Linked DNA regions of Homo sapiens: region 1 is linked to region 2. Evidence: promoter capture Hi-C in 16 types of primary human blood cells and fetal thymus (Javierre and others, 2016). All regions are on one chromosome and are shown on one strand. Each heading gives the region's core, a stretch centred on a gene start or on the middle of the fragment in contact. The rest is flanking DNA. Distances are from core to core; before and after follow the strand shown. Region 1 has its middle 38 kb from the start of SIRT5. Region 2 holds the start of GFOD1-AS1 (GFOD1 antisense RNA 1).

Evidence for each region. Contacts are between HindIII fragments. The CHiCAGO score rates a contact against its expected background, and 5 or more counts as called.
Region 1: a contact is called between a fragment that was not itself captured here and the fragment with the promoter of GFOD1-AS1 in region 2, in 3 of 17 cell types (endothelial precursors, megakaryocytes and total B cells). The highest score is 7.1, in endothelial precursors.

The regions. Positions count from the first base shown.
Region 1 is chr6:13,533,730-13,539,259 of GRCh38, reverse strand. No RefSeq gene overlaps it. Among named protein-coding and RNA genes, the nearest start is that of SIRT5, 38 kb to the left of the region's middle. The HindIII fragment of the contact is 867 bases long and covers 1,193-2,059 here.
Region 2 is chr6:13,483,458-13,489,609 of GRCh38, reverse strand. GFOD1-AS1 (GFOD1 antisense RNA 1) reads right to left here and starts at 3,349. Exons shown (of 2, transcript NR_046709.1): 1 at 3,157-3,349; 2 at 2,839-2,929. GFOD1 (Gfo/Idh/MocA-like oxidoreductase domain containing 1) reads left to right here and starts at 2,010. Exons shown (of 2, transcript NM_018988.4): 1 at 2,010-2,972. The coding sequence starts at 2,720. RefSeq lists enhancers at 959-1,088, 2,649-2,758, 5,394-5,463 and silencers at 1,149-1,258, 1,639-2,018, 2,039-2,518, 2,659-2,822. The HindIII fragment of the contact is 1,067 bases long and covers 3,072-4,138 here.

The DNA of each region.
Region 1 (5,530 bases), core at 377-2,876, 51 kb before region 2:
CGATCTCAGCACCCTTGTCAAAAATCAATTAACCATGGGTATATGGATTTACTTCTGGACTCTATTCTATTCCATTGATTTATGCATGTTTCCGTGTGCCAGCACCACATTGTCTTGATTACCCTTTCTGCTTAAATGTTGTTACAGTATTTCATCAAATGCATTGTGATCTTGCAGATGTTAAAGTGTAAAAAGGAAGGATCAGTGTTTCTTGTATCCCAATGCCTGAGATGTTAAGGTCTTAGGATTGATTAAACGCATGTGTCTGGGAAAACTTTCTTTATCCCGATAGACTAGATTAATCCTCTGCTCTGTGTCCCTGTTTCACCCAGGACTCATCACAGCATTTATCATACTATTGTGACTGTTCCTCTTAAAGCCAGCGGTTCTCAAAGTGTGGCCCACAGACCAGCAGTATCACCCTCACTTGGGAACTTGTTAGACATGCAAATTCTCAGACCCCCACCCCAGCCCACTGAATCAGATACTCTGGAGGAGGGGCCCAGCCATGTGTATTTTATCAAGGCCTCTGAGTGAATCTGACACACACCGAGGTTTGAGAGCCCCTTGATTCAGAAGGTCTGTGAGGGTAGAAAGCACACCTATCTGCCCACCATTGTGTCCCTAGCACTTGGCATGGTGCCTGGTATGGATTAACAATCAATAAATGTTGAATAAATAAATAAATGAACGAAGTGCCGTGACTTGCCCAAGGTCATATGGACAGTAGGTGAAAGCTGAGAGCTACATCACCTCTTTCTGTCTTGGTTGCCGGGCTTATGGTGTGAGGTTGACAGGAATATCCTAATTCATTCAACAAGCATTTGTTAAAGAATTACTGCGTTCTCAACATTTTGCAAAATTTGGCCAAATGCTCTAGCTTTGGTAATAAAATGTGAGGCATCAGTAGATAACTTTGTAGGATCATTAGAAGCACTTCAGGTTCAGAAAGAATTGGGGAAAGTTAGACTTTATTAAACAGCAGGGGGAGCTTTGTGAAGAAGAAAGCAGCCCATGTTGTAGGGCAAGCCAACCCAGCATAAGGACACTTATTTATTTAAGAATAAATTGGTTCAAAGCCGCTTTTACACTCAATTCCTATAGACACACCCTTCTTCCTATTGGATTTCATTATCTGGACATTCTCTTTACACAGGCTTAATAAAATCACTCTTAAGATAACAACAAAGCTTTAAAGAACATATTTGTGAAAAAAACAACAATATTCTAATATTCTGAAATAATAAAAAATTCAGCTAATCACAAAATAAATGCATGTCACTGGGGTTATATATGTTTTATATTAGGCATATTATGCCTAATAGTTTTAAGTTCTAATGAGGCAAAAAAGGTGAAAGGTTAACTAAACAAAGGACATTGTTCTCCTTGATTTTTGAATGGTTATATGGATTCTGAGGATGTGTTTTCATAATTATTAGAACATCGATGCTTTTCTTTTAAATCTTTGAGAGTATTTAAAGTGCATTCTAAACAATGTTTGGCACAGTAGTAGGAAACCACTCCTGTAAATTTTATTAGATTGCTTTGGGAAGGTACAGGTTATCAGAACAGAGGAAACCGAGTTATGCAGAAGACAAAACACACTGTTTATGGCCAACTTCTGCATCCCCACAAAACACACTGTTTATGGCCAACTTCTGCATCCCCACAGAGTCTCATTACTAAGCAAAAGCCTTCCTCAATCATCCAACTTTAATTTTATAACACTGTTTTAATAGAAATCCACATTGTATCCTGCTTTATTGGAAGTGGGTCTCATTTTGATGGAGCCAGTCCTTTGCACAAGGTTTCCCCTGAAACCTCCTGAGACTTTTATCAGTGTGCAAAGGAGACAACCTACAGCTGTTTTGTGTGAATTGGCTGCTGTTAAAACAAGACAGGCAATAAAAAGAGAAGGCAAATTTAAAGCTGTAAAGCAAAGACTTTGAAATCAGAGTGCAGTGCCAGCCAGTCATTCTGGAAATATTTTAATCATTCAATAAGAAAAAAAGGTTTTCTCTAGAGTGGATGATTCTACAAAATTTTTCAACTATAAGCTTTCAACTTCAATGGAGATGGAACAAATGAGTGGATTTATTAGTCATATGACTTCAAACAAGTTATTTAGCCCATCCATGCCTCAGTTTCCTGATTTTTAGAATGGGGATAGTAATCAATAGCACTTACCTTGCAAGCTGGTTGCGAGGGCCGCACATGTACAGAGCTTGGCAGAAAGCCTGGCAAACATTCACCGTCCAGTAGATGTTTGCCACTATGTGCAATTGTTTTCTTTGATGCTCATGTTCACAATCTCTTATCTGCATTTCCCAAATCCAAAAAAAGCTCTGCAAACCCCAAACTTGCTGGTACGATCTGTTCTGAATTGACAGGAGGCTGATGGGAGGCTTTTTTTTTTAAATACCATTTGGGATAAATTTTATATGTTTTGTAGTACAGATATTAATGTATTTACCCTTCTAAAATCCAAAATGTTCTAAATTCCAAGCCACTCTAGCCCCAGGGGTTTCAAATATATGATTTAGGGCCTATTTCTACAAGATGCCAATGCGACTCAGAGAAAAATGAACAAACAGTGGATTCATAGATACCTGGATTTGAATCCAGATGTGGTCATCTACCTTGTGGGCCTTGGGCAAGCAACTTAACTTCTCTAAAGGCTCAAGTGATTGATACACAATTCCTATTACTGCACAGGGTGCAAACTTCTTCATATTCTTGCACCTCCACTCACAACGGTATCTTTCCCTTCATTCGTCCTTACAACCAACCACTTTTGGGGATTGCCACATACCTGGTTTGTTCAAGGCCACTCTCCCACTGCACCCTTAGCTAACTATACCACAGGTGAACTGCGTATGAGCCAATGAGAAAGTTCTGTGGATTCCAAGAAGGGAGGGAATGATTCAGAGGAAGGAATTGGGTTGATACATTTCTGATACCAGCTAACAATCAACTGGGATAAATTCCCAAAGGGCTGCTGCCCCACAGGTAATTTGCACCAAGGTAAAAATGGTTAACAGCTCAAGGTGGTGATGGGTTTAATTCATTTGCAAATTAGAAAGGGAAAAAGTAGAGTCTCACCTCACCATGTCATTGCTGGCTGCCAAAAGATTGGAGAATGTGGGAAAGGCAAGATCCAGAGGTGGTTCATTGGCCTGGACTGATTTATTAGAGAGGTCGCTTTAGGCCAGAAAACCTCAACCCTGACTCCTCAGCCAGCACCTTAAACAATGCCCATCCAAGGCAAGCAGATCGCTTGAGCCCAGGAGATCAAAGCCAGCCTGGGCAACATGATGAAACTCCATCTCTACAAAAAATACAAAAATTAGCCGGATGTGGTGGTGCACGCCTGTGGTCCCAGCTCCTCAGGAGACTGAGGTGGGAGGATCGCCTGAATCCAGGGAAGTCAAGGCTGCAGTGAGCTGTGATTGGGCCACCGCACTCCAGCTGGGGTGACAGAGTGAGACTCTGTCTTAAAAAAAAAAAAAAAAAAAGAAAAAAGAAAAAAAAGAAAAGCCAGGTCCCTGTTCAGATCAACTGGATCAGAATCTCTGGTGTGGTGTGTGCAGGGGCGGCGGGGGCAGGGGGTGGGCTGGGGGTGTGCAGGCAGATGTCAGTAGTGTAAAAAAATCTCCAGGTGATTCTATATTCAGCTTGGTTGCCACCTGCTCACTGAAGACACCTGGGAGTTTTAGGAAATAAGTACTGATGCCCAGGTCCTCCCCCAGAGATGCTGAGCCAACTGGCTTGCATATAAATGGCCTGGAATGTGATGGATCATCAGGATTTTTTTTTTTTAAAGTCCAGAGTGATTCACAGTGATCCAGGTTATCTCCCAATGTGCAGTATTCATTTCTCCTCACAACTAGGTTTCCTGGAATTTTTATCAAGAATTCCAGCTGCCGTAACAATAATGTTCAGATAATACAATTTGAAAGTTTATTTGGTTCTTTACTGAAAATTCACCTTTTCAGGAAAAGATTTAATTTTTGAAGTGCCTTAAATAGGCTGGGCAGAGTCTAGTGAAAATTGAAAACACAACTGACAGCCATTGAATTGATTACCTGCCTGGGTATTTTTCTCATTACCAAGAATTACTATTATCAGATGAAGGAATGGAGAATACAGAACATGATTCATGATTGTTTTAAGTAAGTCTGCAAGGTTAGTGTGTATCACATACATGATGTACCTTTACATATTACTATATGTTTCATGTTTGAGAATGTCTTATTTTTCACTGGCAGCTAAATAGTTGATTGACATCCCTGCCTTTATGGCACTTCACCAGGTACCTGAGACTCCAGAAGTGAGGTGACAAACCCTGCCTCTCAGAGCTGAGCAGTGACTGAGCAGTGGAGACTGAGCTCACTTACTCTGCACTTTCTCATCATTCCATGACTTTGCTTTGCATCTACTGTTGGCAGCTGGAAGGGCCAAGGGTCCTTGCATTGCCCTGACCTTCAAGGGCTCCGGATTTCCTGTGAGAGATGTCCAAGCTCCTTATCTGGGCATGCACAGCCTTGTTGGATCATCAGCCTCTTCTCCTGCCCAGCCCCAACCATGCCAGCCACGTCGGGCTGCTCCCTGCTCCTCCAAGGCCTCTCCTGGCCCCTGCACCTTTGCCACTCTCCACCTGTGGTGCATATAAATACCTCTTTGGGGAAAATAAGAATTAAAGCCCTAGTCCCTCTATGATCCAACAGAAGTGTACTCGGTTTGCTTGAGAGAGCCCTGGTTTGTATCAATATATGTCGGCACTTTAGCTTTCCTAGCGCAGGAGTGTTTTATATTTATTTTGATAAAAACATAATTCAGAATATTAGGTGAGCCTTTTAGGGAGCTTCGATTTATTCAATGCATTGGTGAACTCCAGAGTTGACATAAATGTGCTCTTTTGGGTGAGAACTCATCCTGCCTCTCGTTTGCAGGACCTAATGAGATAGAATTATAACGTAATTTTTTTTTAAGACAGAGTCTTGCTCTTGTCGCCCAGGCTGGAGTGCAATGGCATGATTTCGGCTCACTGTAACCTCTGCCTCCTAGGTTCAAGCAATTCTCCTGCCTCAGCCTCCCAAGTAGCTGGGATTACAGGCACCTGCAACCATTCCCGGCTGTTTTTGTATTTTTAGTAGAGACTGGGTTGGCCAGGCTGGTCTCAACTCCTGACCTCAAGTGATCCGCCCACCTCGGCCTCCCAAAATGCTGGGATTACAGGCGTGAGCCACTGTTCCTGGCCAATTTTTTTTTACATATAAGAATCCTTTCCATCCGGTCAAAACTCTAACACTCACTGAATGGTCATTGCGGAGTTTAAGAGGGAAATCCACTTAGAGCATGAAGGACCGGCCTGATACCCTGGGCCTTCTGATTTCTGGTTTTGAGACATGTTCTTTGCAGAGAGTACTCACTCCTTCTTCCTCTGTCTTCTCCTTGACTTTATTTCTTTCTGTGGGCTTTATGTCAACTAGGTCAGGCTCCAAAATCCCCAGATAATTGCTTTATTTTA
Region 2 (6,152 bases), core at 2,100-4,599:
TCTCTCATCAAGAAATGACATTGGTAACAGACCCATTCTCTATATTTATTTATTTAACATTTATATAGAACTTACTATGCACCATGCCTTATTCTCAGGACTTTGTAAGTATTAGTGAATACGATCCTGTAAAACCCCTTGTGGTATATACCATTATTACCCACCCATTTTATAGATGAAACTATGCCGCAGAGAAGTGATTTGCTCAAGGTCCCACAGCTAGTAAATGGCAGAGCCAGAAGTCAACGCCAGTGGCTCTAGCTGTGCTCCGACCACTACTGCACATCCTCTGCTCCCTGAAAGCCTGGCCATCTCTGACATGTGACAAGCCTGTGATGTATCCAGCCCCTTGGGTCTGACACCACTGCCTGCCCCTGTGCCCAGATAGGCGTTCCTGCCTTGGTTCTTACAAAACCCCTGCTCAAAAGAAGCCTGTTAGTATTGAGGGCAACACCCCTCTTTGTCTCTCAGTCCTCCCCAGGCTGCTGCCAGCCACCCAGCACTGTGTCCTTTGTGCCTTTCTTCTAATGCCCTAGGTCAGCCTCCACCCCGCATTGCCACACACAGCTTTTTTGGTATCCTGCTCTCTCCACGCGCCCCGCCTCACTGCCAGTTGTTACAAGTTGTTTTAAACTCTTGCAAGTATCACGTTTTCCACTCGTGTTGCGGCAGACCATGTGCTACATTGAGCCCAGTGCTGAAGACAGGAGATGAACATGACCTGACCCATGACCTCTCCAGAGACCTTCAGCTAGAAGACGTGCCTTTCACTTTTTAGTCCCCTCTCCCGGCACCAAATGGGTGCGAAGCGGGCATTCGATGAATATGCATACATTTATTTAGCAAATGTTTATTGAGCGCCTACTACATACAGGGCAAGGCAGTGTGCCAGGTGCCAAGGATATGGCGGAAAACCAGACAGACGCAGAGTCCCCATGGCTCCAGAGGTGCGGGGCCAGCCTTGGCCAGTCCTCCTCAGTGCCCCCTCGAGGGCCTGGGAAGGGTGCAGGGTGGTGGAGGTGGGGGCAAGCTGGGAGAAGTAAAGGCTGCGGTAAGTGGCGACGGCAACAGGAGCCGAAGCAAGAGGCGGGCGTGGCATGTGGCCAGGGCGACGTATCCGTCTCGAAACTAGACACGAGACGCACGTGCCGCAGCGGCCTCGGAGACCCCCTGCCCCGCTGCGGCCGTACACACCACAGCGTCTACGCGGGGGCGGGCATGGGCCTAGGGGCGGGGGAGGTGGGAGGCAGATGGGAGCCCGCCAAGACTGGACTGTCTTGGAAGAAGGCGGCTGAACCGTGCGTGCGCGGCCGGAGCGGGGGCGCGCGATTGGAGCAGGCTAGCTTGGAAGGAGACCGTAGAAGTCTGCGGTTCCGTGCCCAGACTCTGGGGCCTGGATTCCAATCGCAGGCCTGTTGCTTATATATGTCACCTTGCGCAAGTCCCTTAGCCTTCATTGCGGCTCATTCACATCACTGGTAAAATGGGTTTACAATAACCTTAGGTTGCTGCGAGGACTAAAAGGGACAATACCTGGAAAGGCGTTAGTATGATGCTCAGCACGCAAGAAACGCTCCGGGAGCCGAGGTTATTATTATCGGCTGTTCGCACCTCGCCGGGTCCCCTCACCTACCCCAGGCCAAGGCGCCCACTGCTCTCTTCCAAGGGACAGGCGACTAACCTATTAGGGCGCGTCCTGCCTAGATAGATGTATTTGCTTGGTTGGGGCGGGGTTTGGAGTGAAGCAGGGAAGAGAAGGAGATGGTGAGGGCAAAGAAAGGGAAGAAGCGGAGGGGCAGGAGGCGGGCGAGGCGGCCTGGGCGGGGCCGGGGAGGAGCCGGGCTGGGCTCCCGGGGCCCGGGCGCAGCGCGCACCCGGAGCTGGCGGCGGCGGGGGCGGGGGCGGCGCGCGGCGGCCAATGGCGCGCGGCGCTGCAGCGAGGGCGGTGCAGGAACACCGGCCGCTGACAGCCAAACTCGCCAACTCCGCCCTCGTCCCCGCGGGATCCCAGAGCCTGAGCCGGCCTGGGGCCGAGGCCGCCCGAGCCGCGAGGCGAGCGAACATGGCAGCAGAATGAGGAGGCTGGCGCCGGGTCGTGGCCGCCGCTGCCGCGCTGCAGCTCGGGATCCCAGTCCGGCGCGCTCCGGGCCGCATCCTTAGCCGGCCTCCTGGCGGCCGCGGGATTATTTCATTCCCAACGGAGAGCTAGGAAGAAAGGAGACTCCCCCGCGGAGCGGTTCCGTGCTCTGGCAGGGTGTAGACGTTTGTCTGTGCGATTCGCCGGCTGCGCAAACGACGCGGGAGAGAGCCGGTCCCGGGCTGCGGCGGCGCGGCCGCGGGGATGAGCCGGCCATGGAGCGGCCTTGGCGGGGCGCACGCAGCGGACTGGCGCTGCCGCGGGAGCGCAGCCTGAGCCGGGGCTCCAGGGGGCTTCGAAGCCTCCGGCGCCCTGGGGGGGTCCCTGCCGCCGACTCCGGGAAGGACGCGAGCCCCGCGTGGCGGACACTGCCGCAGTCACCGTTCTGAGGCGCCCCGAGCTTGCTCCGCCTGCAGCTCGGTGCGCTCTGGGCACCCGGGCGCCTTGCCCGGTGCACGGCGGCTGGCGCACCGCGGCTAGATTGGCTACAGGAGCGGGGTGCAGGACTGGCTAGAGGTGGGTGTGTGCGCGCGTTGGACTGGAGATCCGAGCAGAAGCAGAACCAGGCGGCTCTGAGCAGCCATGCTTCCCGGGGTGGGCGTGTTCGGCACCAGCCTCACGGCCCGTGTCATCATCCCGCTGCTGAAAGACGAGGGCTTCGCGGTGAAGGCGCTGTGGGGCCGCACGCAGGAAGAAGCGGAGGAGCTGGCCAAGGAGATGAGTGTCCCCTTCTACACTAGCCGCATTGATGAGGTGCTGCTGCATCAGGACGTGGACTTGGTGTGCATTAACCTGCCGCCGCCCCTCACCAGACAGATCGCTGTCAAAACCCTAGGTGAGCGACCCCTACCCCGCATCCTCCGTCCCACCCCCGCCCTTTAACCTTCTCTAGGTTCCTTCCCCCCTGCCTTTCCCTCTCCGCATCCCAGAAGCTTACCCTGCATCTACGCTGCCCCGGGGATCTGAGATCCCAGATCCGACTCAGAGCTCCCTCCTTCCTCGTCCCCGGCCTTCCCCACCTTTGCGCTTCCCTCCTGCCTCCTGGCACCACTTGGACGCGCTTCCCCACGTGTGTAGATTGCAGGCTGGAGAAGGCGTGTGTTCCGGGGATCCGAACTAGGAAGATCAGATGCCGATAATAGGGGATAGGGTGCTCCGCGAGAAGAGGAAAGTTACTCCTCAGCTGTGTGTGTAGTGTCCAAGTGTGTGTGTGTGGGGGGGGGGGATGGGGGGGTGGAGGAGGGTTGTGCGCGCGCGCGCCTGGGAGAGGCGAGTGCGCGCCCAGAAACGCCTGAATAAAAGGCCGCACACGTGTGTCGGGTTTTCTTGGGTGCGATAGAGGACCTGCCCTTCAGCAGCGGTGGCGCCCTGCTAGGGTCGTTTGTTTCTTTCTGCTGTGAGTTAGTTTAGCGTGAGATTGCAGATGTTACCATCGGCTGGAATTATTTCGTCTGCGCTGGAGGCAAGGACGGTGGGAGTGGTTGGATGGGGGTGATGATGTATTAGAATGTTTTCAGAGGCGTCATAGGTTAGTAAAGACTGATTTGGTAAAACCAGGGGGTTTTAACTTTTGACTGCAGCCTCCCGGGAAATGTCTTCTGCCCCAATTTGGAGTAATAGATTTTAAATTTTTAGGAGGATGGGCGCAGTAGCTCCAGAGGCATGGATGCTTTGCATGAGAAAAGGCCCTCCCTAATCGCCTTCAGGAATAGTTTCGGAAGGCACAGTGTTGACCCGTGGGCTGGAGATGAGTTCAGGGTGCCTCACCATCTGGTCCCTGCTCCCCTCAACTCCCAGGCAGTCTGAACAATCTCTGAGGACAGAGTAGCAGCCTCTCAGCCTATGCTCAGGGGAAAGAGAAGGGCATGTTTTGTTCATCATCAGTTCTTGCACGTAACCTAAAACAATCCCAGGAAGGTTGCTTGATCTTACAATTCCAAGAAAATGAGCAGCTCACCTTTGAAAGCTGAAGTTTCTATTGGTGAGGAAAAACACAAAGCTTATAACAAGAACAAAGCTTATAACCAGATGAAGCGAATAGTAGAACAGATTAGAAGGGAGGAGCTGCGAAGGAACAGAGACAACATCCAGAAACCAGCCGGAAGTTATGTAGTCTTGGAAAGACTGTTTTATTTGTTAAAAATAGGTATGGATTCAGGGTAGGTGAAATATACGTGTGTTTTAATTCTGTCTTCGAAGAGCTATGAACAGAATGTAAAACTCTTTCTCCATAGAAAGGCATTTTCATCAGGCCATTTGGCTATTGACTCAGATGCAACATCTGATAGAATTCCTAAGGAGGCTGCCCACATTGTCAGTTTTAATTGTCAGTTAATTTTATTAAGTGTCTGCCCTTTGTGGCCTGTTTCTTTGGCCTTGAACTGAATGCCATTGAACTGAATGCTAATATTTATTTTCTGTTTAATGGAACATGTATGTTGGGTGGATAACTCCCTTGTTTACATTGGCTCTTTGCATATCAAATATCTTATAACGATCTTATGGTATAATTCTATTAGTGCAATTTGTACAAAACTGGTCCCTGATGAGCCCTGCGTATACTGGAGAGCTTAGGACTGGTCATATCTGAAAGACCATGTTGTTAACATCGTTTCTCCACCATAAAGATGGCAGTTCCTGTCCTGGGTTCAGACCCACAGAGCAAACCTAGAGCAGGAGGGTGGCAATTTGGGGAACAAGGATGACCTTGTTTTCTGGCTGTCTCTGGGACCATGGCCATGAAAGTGTCTGGGGGCTCTGGTTTCAAGAGATGTGACACAAATTAGACATTTCTGGATACTTCTTCTGTTCTTATTTTTCAAATATCCCTGTGACTTTAATTAACAAGACATGTCTGTTACCTCTTCAAAACCAGCGATAAGAGGCATAATAGACCTAGTTTAGTAATGGTGATGACAGAATAGGGTTTTGTTCATGTTTTTAGGGTAGGTTTTGAGCTTCTTTCTTCTTTCTTTTTTTAACTCCTTCTTTTGCAGGGTGCCCCTGCGAGTGCACAGTGGGGTGGTCGTCTTGGTTTGCTTTACAGTCACTGTTGAAGGTTCAACACATAGAACGTAGGAAGTGAAAAACCCCAAACAGTTATCAGGCTGATCTGGCTGTTGGGAGTGTATAGATACGAGTGTTTGCCTGGAATTGAAACTAGCTACTTTGACTCATCCTGGTAAATTGTCCTTTTAGCAAAGGCCTGGACTTTGAATTGCTTGCCCAGTGAGGGTGACAGGTCTGTAGCCTTCGATCCACACTCATAACTGGTCACAGGCCTGTCAAAGTAAGGGGCTAGGGACCCTACTTTGTAGGGACCCTACAAAGTGTGGTCTAGGGACCACAGTGAAATGAAACTTCAGATCAATTGAATCACACACATCCTCCTTTAATTTTTAAAAATTTCCTCAAAATCCCTACCTTTGTGAATGAGGCATTCCTCTGTTGTAGAGGCATTTCTACCAAGTGTACTTTCTACACTGTCCAAGGCTGCCTCTTATTAAGTACATACTGTATGCCAGGCAGCATGGTAAGTGCTGTGTATAAAGCATTTCATTTCATGACTAAAATAATCCTCTAAGATAGATATTAGCTCCATTTCACAAATGAAGCAACTGAGATTCAGAGACCTGAGTCACTTTGCTCCTAGACCTACAGCTAGAGATTTGAACCCAGCACTCTACCTCCCCCGGAGTCATTTCTTCCTCTTCCATCAGCTGTACCTGTTCCTCTGCCATAGATCATGGCAGCCCAGGTCAGACTGTTGGAGTTGTCCTTTATTCCATCCCAGCCCTGGAATCGGTTCCCAAACCTGTTTGATGCCATCTGAAACTCTCTGTGTCTGTTCCCCATAGAAGTCAGGTCCTTTCGTAGTTTCTGAACTAGGTTCCAGTCCACCCCACCCAACCCTGCCTCTAGCCACTATCTACACTGCTGCCAGGTATGGAGTATCTGGCAGTGCTAGAGACCTGGTCATGTCATCGTTTCCCCTTTCAGGAAAAGCCCCAGCTGA